Regions from separate parts of the Homo sapiens genome. Here region 1 is linked to region 2. Evidence: promoter capture Hi-C in 16 types of primary human blood cells and fetal thymus (Javierre and others, 2016). All regions are on one chromosome and are shown on one strand. The core of a region is centred on a gene start or on the middle of the fragment in contact, and the rest is flanking DNA. Distances in the headings are between cores, read along the strand shown.

Evidence for each region. Contacts are between HindIII fragments. The CHiCAGO score rates a contact against its expected background, and 5 or more counts as called.
Region 1: a contact is called between a fragment that was not itself captured here and the fragment with the promoter of RASIP1 in region 2, in 2 of 17 cell types (megakaryocytes and erythroblasts). The highest score is 6.2, in megakaryocytes.

Annotation. Positions count from the first base shown.
Region 1 is chr19:48,629,052-48,635,317 of GRCh38, forward strand. DBP (D-box binding PAR bZIP transcription factor) reads right to left here. Exons shown (of 4, transcript NM_001352.5): 3 at 4,393-4,604; 4 at 979-2,001. The coding sequence ends at 1,786. It overlaps SPHK2 (sphingosine kinase 2), which reads left to right. Exons shown (of 7, transcript NM_020126.5): 7 at 1-1,354. The coding sequence ends at 722. Among named protein-coding and RNA genes, the nearest start is that of DBP, 5.2 kb to the right of the region's middle. RefSeq lists a silencer at 5,500-5,679. The HindIII fragment of the contact is 2,907 bases long and covers 2,406-5,312 here.
Region 2 is chr19:48,737,668-48,743,765 of GRCh38, forward strand. RASIP1 (Ras interacting protein 1) reads right to left here and starts at 2,943. Exons shown (of 12, transcript NM_017805.3): 1 at 2,854-2,943; 2 at 2,479-2,619; 3 at 1,293-1,978. The coding sequence starts at 2,615. It overlaps IZUMO1 (izumo sperm-oocyte fusion 1), which reads right to left. Exons shown (of 10, transcript NM_182575.3): 6 at 5,778-5,858; 7 at 4,542-4,642; 8 at 4,122-4,275; 9 at 3,634-3,811; 10 at 3,185-3,361. The coding sequence ends at 3,241. RefSeq lists a silencer at 1,159-1,678, an enhancer at 1,196-1,735 and a cis regulatory region at 2,796-4,221. The HindIII fragment of the contact is 9,865 bases long and covers 2,566-6,098 here.

The sequences.
Region 1 (6,266 bases), core at 2,609-5,108, 110 kb before region 2:
CCCTGCATCGTTCTGTGTCTGACCTGCCTCTTCCCCTGCCCCAGCCTGCCCTGGCCTCTCCTGGCTCGCCAGAACCCCTGCCCATCCTGTCCCTCAACGGTGGGGGCCCAGAGCTGGCTGGGGACTGGGGTGGGGCTGGGGATGCTCCGCTGTCCCCGGACCCACTGCTGTCTTCACCTCCTGGCTCTCCCAAGGCAGCTCTACACTCACCCGTCTCCGAAGGGGCCCCCGTAATTCCCCCATCCTCTGGGCTCCCACTTCCCACCCCTGATGCCCGGGTAGGGGCCTCCACCTGCGGCCCGCCCGACCACCTGCTGCCTCCGCTGGGCACCCCGCTGCCCCCAGACTGGGTGACGCTGGAGGGGGACTTTGTGCTCATGTTGGCCATCTCGCCCAGCCACCTAGGCGCTGACCTGGTGGCAGCTCCGCATGCGCGCTTCGACGACGGCCTGGTGCACCTGTGCTGGGTGCGTAGCGGCATCTCGCGGGCTGCGCTGCTGCGCCTTTTCTTGGCCATGGAGCGTGGTAGCCACTTCAGCCTGGGCTGTCCGCAGCTGGGCTACGCCGCGGCCCGTGCCTTCCGCCTAGAGCCGCTCACACCACGCGGCGTGCTCACAGTGGACGGGGAGCAGGTGGAGTATGGGCCGCTACAGGCACAGATGCACCCTGGCATCGGTACACTGCTCACTGGGCCTCCTGGCTGCCCGGGGCGGGAGCCCTGAAACTAAACAAGCTTGGTACCCGCCGGGGGCGGGGCCTACATTCCAATGGGGCGGAGCCTGAGCTAGGGGGTGTGGCCTGGCTGCTAGAGTTGTGGTGGCAGGGGCCCTGGCCCCGTCTCAGGATTGCGCTCGCTTTCATGGGACCAGACGTGATGCTGGAAGGTGGGCGTCGTCACGGTTAAAGAGAAATGGGCTCGTCCCGAGGGTAGTGCCTGATCAATGAGGGCGGGGCCTGGCGTCTGATCTGGGGCCGCCCTTACGGGGCAGGGCTCAGTCCTGACGCTTGCCACCTGCTCCTACCCGGCCAGGATGGCTGAGGGCGGAGTCTATTTTACGCGTCGCCCAATGACAGGACCTGGAATGTACTGGCTGGGGTAGGCCTCAGTGAGTCGGCCGGTCAGGGCCCGCAGCCTCGCCCCATCCACTCCGGTGCCTCCATTTAGCTGGCCAATCAGCCCAGGAGGGGCAGGTTCCCCGGGGCCGGCGCTAGGATTTGCACTAATGTTCCTCTCCCCGCGGGTGGGGGCGGGGAAATTCATATCCCCTGTTCGTCTCATGCGCGTCCTCCGTCCCCAATCTAAAAAGCAATTGAAAAGGTCTATGCAATAAAGGCAGTCGCTTCATTCCTCTCAGACCTTCTGCCCTTCCTCCATCCGACAGCCCGCGGGAGGACTCAGACTCCAGCACTTCCAGCAGCGCCTGCCCTCTATGGACGACAGCCCGGAGCTGCCCACGGGCTGCAGCCAGTATGCCAGGGAGCTGCCCTCTTCTTCCACAACAGCTGGCTCTGGGGTTCTCAAGATTTATTCAGGATCGTGTTAACGGAGGCGGTGGGAGGATAGGGTCCCTGACGTGCCGGGGACACACACAGAGAACCCTCCCCGCCCCCGCAAGGGAGGGGGGAGGCTCGCTTTTTCTTAAAAATATAAATGTATTTATCTGCATTATCACGTCCCTGGGGCACCCAGCTGGCCGGCCCGTGGGCCACAGGGCAGGAAGGGAACAGGGCGTAAGTCTCAGCAAGGCGGAGGAGAGCTCCGCCAGGTGGGGATGTGGGGCAGCCTCACAGGGCCCCGTGCTGGGCCTGGTATCGGGACAGCACGGCGCGGTAGTGGGACAGCTCCTGGCGCACGGCCACAACTTCCTGCCGCAGCAGGGCGTTCTCCTTCTCCAGGAAGGCCGCCCGCACCGATATCTGGTTCTCCTTGAGCCGCCGGGCGTCACGGGACCGCTTGGCTGCCTCGTTGTTCTTGTACCGCCGGCTCCAGTATTTCTCATCCTGCAGGAGAAGAGGGGGAGAGCACTGAGGTCCAGAGGGACCCAGGTCCCAGCGAGAGAGGAAGGGAGCCCCAGCAGCGGGGCCTAAACCACACCAGGTCTCTGCTGGGATAGGTACCCAAGGGTCTGCCTTTCTAGGGCCCTGGTTGCTAAGGAGATTGGGCCCCTAGCAACAGTAAAGGCATGAGATAGACCCCCCACCCTCAAGCAACTCGCTTCAAGTCTCCACTCTGCAAAGCGGACCCCAGCCCTCCCCACATGATAAAGGCCTGCATGCAGTTAGCTCTTGCTTGCTAAGGATGCTTGTTCCCTAGCAACAAGGCCTTCATGGTCTGAGGGCTTCTCCCAATGAAGAGCACTGCCCTGCCCTGCACATTGCCTTTCCAGATCCTGGTTGCTAAGGAAAGCTTGGTGCCCTGGTGATGGGGTTTGGTGTCCCATAAAATCCTCGCAGAGCTGGGGCCTTCTGACCTGGTTGCCAAGGCAACCTCATCCATCCTTGGCAAACAAAAGTGAGGTCTAAGTGGTTTCAATGACTGTGGCCAGCCTCTGACCTGCTGGCCTTGAACTGAGGCCAGAGAATAGCCTCCTCCCCAGTAGGACCTGACTGAGAGAAGAGCTGTCTCTTAGGAAAGGGGACTATCCTGAGACCTCCCCAGAGGATTATACCTAAAGTCCTCCCATCCTGGAAGTTGGTTCCTAAGGAAGACTCCTCCTTAGTAACCAAGGACCACGGGGCTCAGAAAGATGCTCTCTACTCCACTATTTAATTAAAGCCCAGTTCCTGCTTGTGAGGGTAAATCCAGTCCCTAGCAACAGGGCCCTCTAGAAGGAGAAACCACTGGTGTAGATCTGACTTCCAGGCCAGTCCTAGGTGCTTCAAGTAGCTATGTGTTACGCAAGGGTATGGCAAAGTCTTGTTTGTTTTTGAGATGGAGTCTCGCTCTGTCGTTCAGGCTGGAATGCAGTGGCATGATCTCGGCTCATTGCAACCTCCACCTCCCAGGTTCAAGCGATTCTCCTGCCTCAGCCTCCCAAGTAGCTGGGATTATAGGTGCCCGCTACCATGTCCGGCTAATTTTTGTTCTTTTTTTTTTTTTTTGAGATGGAGTTCTCACTCTGTCGCCCAGGCTGGAGTGCAGTGGCGCGATCTCGGCTCACTGCAACCTCCGTCTCCTGGGTTCAAGCGATTTTCCTACATTAGCCTCCCAAGTAGCTGGGACTACAGATGAGTGCCACCATGCCCAGCTAATTTTTGTATTTTTTTGTAGAGACGGGGTTTCACCATGTTGGCCAGGATGGTCTCCTGATCTCGTGATCTGTCCGCCTCGGCCTCCCAAAGTGCTGTGATTACAGGTGTGAGACACCACACCCGGAACATTTTTGTACTTTTAGTAGAGGCGAGGTTTCACCATGTTGGCCAGGCTGGTCTCAAACTCCTGACCTCAAGTGATCCGCCCACCTCAGCCTCCTAAAGTGCTAGGATTACAGGCGTGAGCCAACGCGCCTGGCCCGGAATGACAAAGTCTTGTAACAGAAGCCCAAGCAACTCTTGCTAGGGAAGACTCCAGTAATGGCAAAAAACAAAATCATGCAAAGATGCAATGACTGCTCAAATCACCCCAAATCAGAAAGTGGCACTGGCTGCTAACAGAAGCCTGAAGTCTCCCACCAGTGAGAAGTCCAGGCCCAGGAAACAAGGCCTAAAGGGGCTGGCACAGTCTTCATCCTAGCCAAATGCAATCACTCCAAAGGAAGTCCCACATCAGAGATCAAAGGCCTGCTGAGTAAGGAGAGACAGGCCACAGGCTGATATCCCATTGCCAAAGGAAGACTGTCCTTTGCAAGTGTGCCTGGTGGAGCTCTGGACCCAAGTAATAGGAGAAGCTCCAAGTCTCTACAAGTAGACCTAGCAGAGCTGGCTGAGTCAGCACCCCACAGTGACACTGTCTTTTGTTTTAAGACAAGGTCTCCCTCTGTTGCCCAGGCTGGAGTGCAGTGGTGTAATCTTGGCTCACTGCAGCCTCAATCTCCCAGGCACAAGCAGTCCTCCCACCTCAGCCTCCCAAGTGGCTTGTAGAAATGGGGTTTTGCCATGTTGCCCAGGCTGGTCTTGAACTCCCGAGCTCAAGAGATCCTCCTGCCTCAGCCCCCTAAAATGCTGGGATTACACGAGTGAGGCCCCTCGCCCAGTTGACACTGTCTTTATAAACCTCAGGCCCCTGCCCCCTTGTGCCCCGTGGCCAAGGAGGACTAATCTGTGGCTGCAGGCCAGGAGAGGCTGAGCACTAATCCCAAGGAGAAGCCCAGGCTTGACTGTGAGAAAAGGCCCCTCCCTGGCTGTGGGGCATGTCTCCAGCCAAGTCTATCTCCCACATCCAGCTCTGCTCACCTTCTGCTCCTCCGGCACCTGGATTTTTCTTGCCTTCTTCATGATTGGCTGGGGCTTAAGTTCCTCTTCTGAGAAGCGATGTCTTCGAGGGTCAAAGGTCTCGTGGCCAGGAATGCTTGATAGGGCAAGATCAGCTGGGTCGGGTTCAAAGGTCATCAACACCTCCACGGTGTCTGGGTCCACAGGGCTGGGTGTGTCCCGAGAGGTCAGGCCTTGGGGAAACAGCACGTGTCAGCTGAGTGTGTATTTTAAGGAGGGGGTTTCCTGAAGCTACTTTTTGCTGTGGTATCATAGCCACATGGAAAGTCCTTCTGGGATCTAGCATAAATTCGGCCAGGGATTAATCTCCCTAATATAAAATATGAAGGTTCCCTTGGCCAGGCGCAGTGGCTCACGCCTGTAACCCCAGCAGTTTGGGAAGCCGAGGCGGCGAATCACCTTTAGTCAGGAGTTCAAGACCAGCATGGCCAACATGGAGAAACCTCATCTTTACTAAAAGTACGAAAATTGCCCAGGTGTAGTGGCGGGTGCCGGTAAGCCCAGCTACTAGGGAGGCTGAGGCTGGAGAATTGCTTGAACCCGGACCCTGGAGGTGGAGGTTGCAGTGAGCTGAGATCATACCACTGCACTCCAGCCCGGACAACAGAGCGAGACTCCGTCTCCAAAATAACGAGAAAAATGAAGGTTCCCCTAAGCCATAAAGATGCTTAGAGATCATGGAGCCATATCCACCTTTACAAACAAGGAAACTGAGTCCCAGTCATAACTGACTTGCCCTAGGTAACACACGAATCAGGGCTATTGCTTCTACACTTGATCTTAGCCAAAAGGCCGAGAAGCGATGGGGCTATTGCTTCTAAAACCTCAGGACTTCAGATGCACAGTCTAGCCTGAATCCTACTTACCGAATCCACGACCTAAGCTTAGACCCCAGACTGTCCAGAGAAAAAGAATCTACTGCACTGAAAAGCTCTCAAGTTAGAGTCTAAGAGCTACTCGCTGGAAAGAGGAGGAGAAGCTGCTCTAAGGTTCCAGAAGATTGGTTCGAAAGGAGGCGCCTGTACCTTTAAGCACCAGCCAGCCGGGGCCAGCTAAGGACACAGGTTCAGGGCCGAGTCACGTGCTGACGCCTGCTTCCCTCCTCCTCCCTTCCTCCCAGGCCCCCGCCATCGGCGCCCTCACGTTCCCCCGGCCCCGCCCCCCTCGCGCTTGAAGGCGCCTGCGCGAAGCGCGGAGGAGGGATGGGAGGACTCACGTGGCGCAGGAATGTGCCGCTGGGAAGGGTAGGGCCCTGGTTCGGCCCGGAGGTCGGACCTGGAGCAGGTGTGCCCAGGAATCCCCGACCTGCAGTCCGTCCCTGGAGACCTCAATGTGCCCAAAGGGAAACATCTTTCCTCTTGCTCTTCCAGTCACTTAGTTCCACTCAACCTCCAAAGATTCCCAACCCCCTGCTCTCCGGGGAGCATCGGCCTCCTGGACCTTCCCAGAACCCCCGCCACTGGGCTACCACGATTCTGGGATCCCAGGCCTCTCCTAGGAATATAGGAAGCTTGGCCCCAGCCCCAATTGGAGGATCCAGAAACAACATCCCTAACGTTTTCCCTTCTGAAGAACTCTGGGACCCGGGGCTGCAGCACGCCCCACTGGGGGACCCAGGGACCTGGGCTGCCAGTCTCTTATGTCCTGGGTAAACAGAATTCTGTGCCTCTCCTTTGCCTTTGCCCCTGTAAAGGACCTAGGGGCTCCAGTCCTATCCCAGTTCCATCGATTATGGGCCCAGATTCGGGGGTCAGTCCACTCCCCAGTAAATAACTCTGGTGTTCCGGACTTCCAGTTCTGGCTTCACGAGTATCCACATCGTTTGTCCCCAAGTC
Region 2 (6,098 bases), core at 1,693-4,192:
ATAGGCCCTGCTCAGTAGCCACCTCAACCTACTTGGCAGAGCTGCCTCCTACCACAGAGACCCATGCTCACCACATGCCACCACTCCTCGCGGGACCCAACAGTTTTTGCCCCAGACCACGCTTTTCCACAAGCCCCGCCCCACCACAGGCCCCGCCCCACAACATGCCCCGCCCATCTGCTCTGCATCGCTCCCAAGAACATTGTCCGTGCTTACTCTTCCGGCTCCTAGGTCTCCAATTCCTTTTTCTTTTTCTGGAGGACAGTTTTTTGTTTGTTTGTTTGTTTGTTTTTTCGAGACGAAGTCTCGCTCTGTCCCCCAGGCTGGAGTTCAGTGGCGCGATCTTGGCTCACTGCAGCCTCTGCCTCCTGGGTTCAAATTATTCTCATGTCTCGGCCTCCCGAGTAGCTGGGATTACAGGCATGCGTCACCACGCTCGGCTAATTTTTGTATTTTTAGAAGAGACAGGATTTCACCATGTTGGCCAGACTGGTCTCGAACTCCCAACCTCAGGTGATCCGCCCGCCTCAGCCTCTCAAAGTGCTGGGATTACAGGCGTGAGCCACCACGCCCGGCCAGGACTAGTTCTTTAATTCAAAAAGACCCTTGTCAATATTCAGTATCAAAACAGTTGCACTATTGATTTCTCTTTCTCCTAATTGGCCCCAAGAGACCACATCAAAGGAGAGTACAGTTTAAGCCATTAAGCTGCAGGATGTACACCTAACAGACCTCGCAGAAACCTTACCAGAAAGTGGGGATTGGTTAGAGAAAGGAACTTTCAAAGATCAGCAAATTGCTAGTGTCCTCTAACCTACCACACAGGGCGAATCCCTTAGGCCCCTGCGGACTCCTGCCCATTCCACTGGACTCCACAAACGCTCCTCAGGATCTACTACTCCGCAGACCCCGCTACACACCCCACCTCCTCCAAGGCAGTCTGAAATGCCTGCAGAAGGCCCTAACCCCAATTCGGAGCCACTTCAGGCCACTCCAAGCCACCACCAGCAACCAGCCCCCGTCCCGCCTAAGCCCCAAGCTTGGCCCCTGTAAAACTCCTGCTCAATCAACAAGCCCCACCCAACTCTCAGGCCCGCCCATCTGGCCGCCCCCGGCCCTGCTCTAGCTCTGCCTAGAGTCCAACACGCACCGTCCAGTCCCCTCCCAGTCCCCTCCCGCGGGCCCCGCCCCCAGCCAGCCCGCGAGTCCCACAAGCCCCGCCCAGGCCCCGCCCCACGGACCCCGCCTCTCTGGCACCGAGTCCCCGCCCCAGAGCCCCGCCCGCCGCTCACCTTCGCTGTCCGCGGCCCCGAAGGCCTCCTGCTCCAGGCGCCGCGCCTCCTCGCGGCCGCGCAACTCGAAGCGCCGCGCCCAGCCGGGCCGCGCCCGCCACAGCTCCTGCACCAGCAGCGGGCGCTCGGAGTCGCCCAGCACGCGCAGGTGCTCCGCCCGCCACTCGCCGCTTCCCACGCCCGCCGCCGCGGGCCGGCCCAGAGCGTCGCACAAAGCGAAGGCGTCCACGCAGCTGCTCTCGCCGGGGCCACCGCCGGGGCTGCCTGCTAGGCCGTAGCGCTCTAGCGCCTCGGCCACGAGCTCGCGCGCCGTGGAGCGCGCCGTGGCCAGCACGCTCTTGTAGTTGGCGCCCGATGCCAGTCCGGCGCCGAAGATCTTGAGGACCCCCGGAGGCGCCGTGGCGCGGGTAGCCAGCGGGGGCTCGGGGGCCACGCCCGCCGCCAGCTCCGGCAGCTTCTTCTCGCTGGCCCAGCGCTGCGCGCCCCCCGGGGTCCCAGGGCCTCCTGCGCCGCTGGACCCCGTGGTCCCGGTCCCCGAGCCCCGGAAGAGCTGGGAGATGCGCTTGGCGCGGCTACCGGAGGCTCCCCCGGCCGCCTTGACAGCGCCCACTCGCCGCAGCTCCACGTGCGGCGGGGGCGGAGGTAGCGGCTCGCTGCTGCGGCTCCCCGTGTCCGACGAAGAAGACCTGGGAGTCCGCCGGGGAACAGAGTCGCGGGAGAGAGACCCAGGACGACACGCCAAGACGGGGGTGGGGGCATATTAGGAGGGAAGTGGGCAGAGACCCAGAGGGAGGACAGGGACCCAGGGTGGATGGACGGGGCGGGGGTGAGGGTGGGGACAGACGCGAGGCAAAGAGAGAGAGAAAAAATAAATAAATAAAGGCAAGTCCCACAGTAGGAAATTCCAAGAGGTGAGCAGGGAGGGGAGGAAGGAAGGTGAATCAATCCCCCTGCTCCTTCTGTCCCCGTCCCCGTGCCCATCCGGCCTCACTCCACCTCCTAGCCTAGCTCTTACTCCCACCGCGCCCTGGTATCACTGTGCCCCACCGTCTCCCCCTGCCCACCAGCTCGTTTGCCCAATTCAGGATGAGGACCGGAGCCAACACTTTGCAGGGACTGGGCAGTGAACAGGGACAGATGGGAAGCAGGTGTGCAGGGGCAGGAGTCCTGCAGAGATGGCACTCACTTGACAGAGGCTGCGCTGGGCCAGCGCCGCCCCAGCTTCGCCAGCTGCTTCCTGGGGGAATTGATCCACAGGCCCACGGGGAGATGAAGCTTCCCGAAGCGGGGGCTTCCGCCCTCCTTCCGTTCACCAGACAGCATGGCCCTAAGGGAAGGCGGGTAAGGCCCCAACTCCTAAGGCATTCTTGTGGGGATGGGGTGGAGGGAACCTGGACTCCGAGTCAGAGGGAGGAGGGGGCTGGGGCTCAGACTTGCGAGTCCAGGGGGAGGAGAGGGATGGTACCCTGGATTCCTGGGTCCTGGGATGGAAGATGGCTGGGGGACTGAGTCTTGGGGCCCAGGGAGGAGGGGTTTGGGCTGCTGGGTCCCTGGCTCTTACCCTGCTTCGGGTCCGGCACACCCGGAGGCCCTGGCTCCACTGGCCTGGGTCAGTTCCACTGCTCTTGCCTCTGCCACGGCTCCCAGCACTGGGTGGGGGACAGGAAAAGGCAAGAGGAAACCCGGCAGGAAGAGCGGGGAGGGGGCGTCCTGTGAGGAGACCAGGCCTGGGGGAGGAGATCTGGGTAGGGTTGGCCCTGCCCCATTCCTTGATTCTGGAATTACATCGCAGTCAGTTGGTCCCCTCCAGGACCCAAGGGTCCCGGTTTTCTGCCCTTCCTCCCTCAGGCCGGAGCCCATCCCCAGACCTCTCCTCTCGGGGAACCAAAGGCTAGAATCAGTCCCGTCCCGGGGAGTGAGTCAGATGCTTAGACAACAAGATAAATCTTTATTGTTGCCTCGAATCTGTGGCCTTTTCTTTTGGGACCTGGGTTTGCTCGGCCGCTCCACTGCCAAGGCCAAACAGTGAGGATTTGATGAAATCGATCACCTTCCTTCGACGAAATATCCTAGGGGTGGGAGTGGGGTGCAGATCATGGAACCGGTTTGGGTACTAATTGTGTGGGGGACACCCCTCCCAACCTCCCCCTTTGTGACCTTATTCTAGCAATTACCTAAGCCTCGCCCTTCGAAGTCCTCCTATTCAAGCCCCCCGCACTCCATCCCCAGGAAAGTCCTGCTCTCAGGCCTCAGTAGCCCCCAGACCAGCTTCTGTGTTGGGTTCCTGGAAGCCCCGCCCCTTACTCCAAGCCAAGCCTGTCTTCTTCAATGGGTTGCTTACGCAAAGGTAAGGCCGGTTATCAGTGCTAGGGAGCCGCAGATCAGCAGCCCCAGAAGGCGGCTTGCCAGCATTTTCTCGGGCTGCAGAGGCTGGAGGCTTATGGACGACTCCGTGGTCGCCTCCCCCGGGGTTACGATATTTGGAGAAGGTTTTTCCTCCTTGATCATTTTGGGCAACACTGTTAGAGAAAGCGTAAAGAGCAGTCCTGGCAGGGCGTGGAGTTCCTGCCCTGGCAAAGACAAGCCCGTCCCAGTAGCCGGCCATCCCAGAGATAATCACGCCTTCAACAGTGTCAAGCCTGAACACACCCAAGGGAACCCCTGTCCTCGGGGCCAGAGGCCACGCCCCCGGCAGGAAGCCACACCCCGTGCCCCGAAACCACACCCAACAGGAAGTCACGCCCCCATCGCCAAGGCCACGCCCCCGCCGCGGACCCCAGCTTTCCTGGGCCCTGAATCCTACACTTCTCTCAGCCCCACAGCACTGACCTGTGACGTGAAAATTGATGATCGTGGCTGGGCTGGAATTCACAGAGCCCAGCTCGCAGCGGTAGCTGCCTGCATCCTCTGGACCCACCATGGGCTTGGTCAGGGTGGCCTCTTTCCCCTTGGACACCAAGGTCTCCGTATTGTTCCCCCAAACCTAGACCCAAGCTCAAGGGGTCACTGAGGCCTGAGGAATTCAGGGGTTGGGGGAGTACAGGGGTGAGAAGATCACAGGGCCTCAGTGTGGGAGGTGAGTGTCCAGGGTGTCACTGGTCAGGGCACGGGGTCCCCAGAGGTCTGTAGAGACCACACCTAATAGACCACCCTCCTGGGTCATGAGAATCGTGGGTGCAGGCCCATAGATCCAGAACACAAGTATTGTAGTCTAGGGAGTTCAAGGGTTACAGAAGTTGAGGCCCTCACCCTGTAAAAGCTGTAATCAGTGAGGCCTTCCGAAGCCTGATGCCAGTTTAACTCACAGTCCAGGATCATGTCTTCCATTTGAGGAACTTCCACATTCCGCTCTGGGGGTGGGGGATGACCATGGGACACTCATGATTCTGTTTTTGTTTTTGTTTTTGAGATGGAGACTCGCTCTGTCGCCCAGGCTGGAATGCATTGGCGCGATCTCGGCTCACTGCAACCTCCGCTTCCTGGGTTCAAGCGATTCTCTTGCCTCAGCCTCCTGAGTATCTGGGACTACAGGCGCTTGCCACCACGCCTGGCTAATTTTTGTATTTTTAGTAGAGATGGGGTTTCACCATATTGGACAGGCTGGTCTGGAACTCCTGACCTCAGGTGATCTGCCTGCCTCAGCATCCCAAAGTGCTGCGATTACAGGCATGAGGCACTGCGCCGGGCCTCCTTCACGGTTCTTTACCCTCCCCTAATCCTTTACATTTGTTGTAACCTCGTCTTTTCTCTTTTCTTTCTCTCTCTCTTTTTTTTTTTTTTTTTTTTTAGATGAAGTCTCACTCTGTCACCCAGGCTGGAGTGCAGTGGCGCGATCTTATCTCACTACAACCTTCGCCTCCTGAGTTCAAGCAATTCTCTGCTTCAGCCTCCTGAGTAGCTGGGATTACAGGTGCCCACCACCATGTCTGGCTAATTTTTTTGTATTTTTAGTACAAAAACGATGGTTTCACCATCTTGGCCAGGCTGGTCTTGAACTCCTGACCTTGTGATCCACCTGCCTCGGCCTCCCAAAGTGCTGGGACTACAGGCGTGAGCCAGCGCGCCCGGCCTCTTTTTTTTCTTTTTAGACAAGGTCTCACTCTTTTGCCTGGGCTGGAGTGCAGTGGTATGATCATAGCTTACTGCAGTCTCCAACTCCTGGGTCCAAGCAATCCTCCTGCCTCAGCCTTCCAAGTAGCTGGGACTACAGGAACGCAACACCACACCTGACTAATTTTTAAATTTTTTTGTAGAGATAGAGTCTCGCTATGTTGCCCAGGCTGGTCTCAAACTCCTGGCTTCCCAATCCTCCCGTCTCAGCCTCTCGAAGTGCGAGACTATAGGTGTGAACCACTGCACCTGGCCTAAACCCTACCTTTTCTTGTCTACTGCCCCCACACCCCCATCTAGGCTCTCTCTAGACTGCCTCTCCTCTCGCCCCACCCCACCTGCACCAATTCCTCCTGCTGGGTCCAGTTCTCTCACCCCCGCAATCGTAGGACTTTCGACAAGCGTGAACCTCCTTTTTGCAGTTCTTGCACCAGATCAGAGTTTGCAACATCACACCTGGAGGGGCAGGGTCAAGGCTTGTATTTGCCCACTAAGGGGCATGGCTAAAAGGAGAGGTCAGGGCTAAGGGCTGGGGCCAGATCATCTATGACATTCCTAGATGGTCAGACGAAGGCACAGGACCAGGACGCAGGTAAGTAGTAAGTGGGCTCCAACAAGGCTCAGTAAAGATTGTAAGTAGAGGCCGGATGCGGTGGCTTACTCCTGTAATCCCAGCACTTTGGGAGGCCGAGGCGG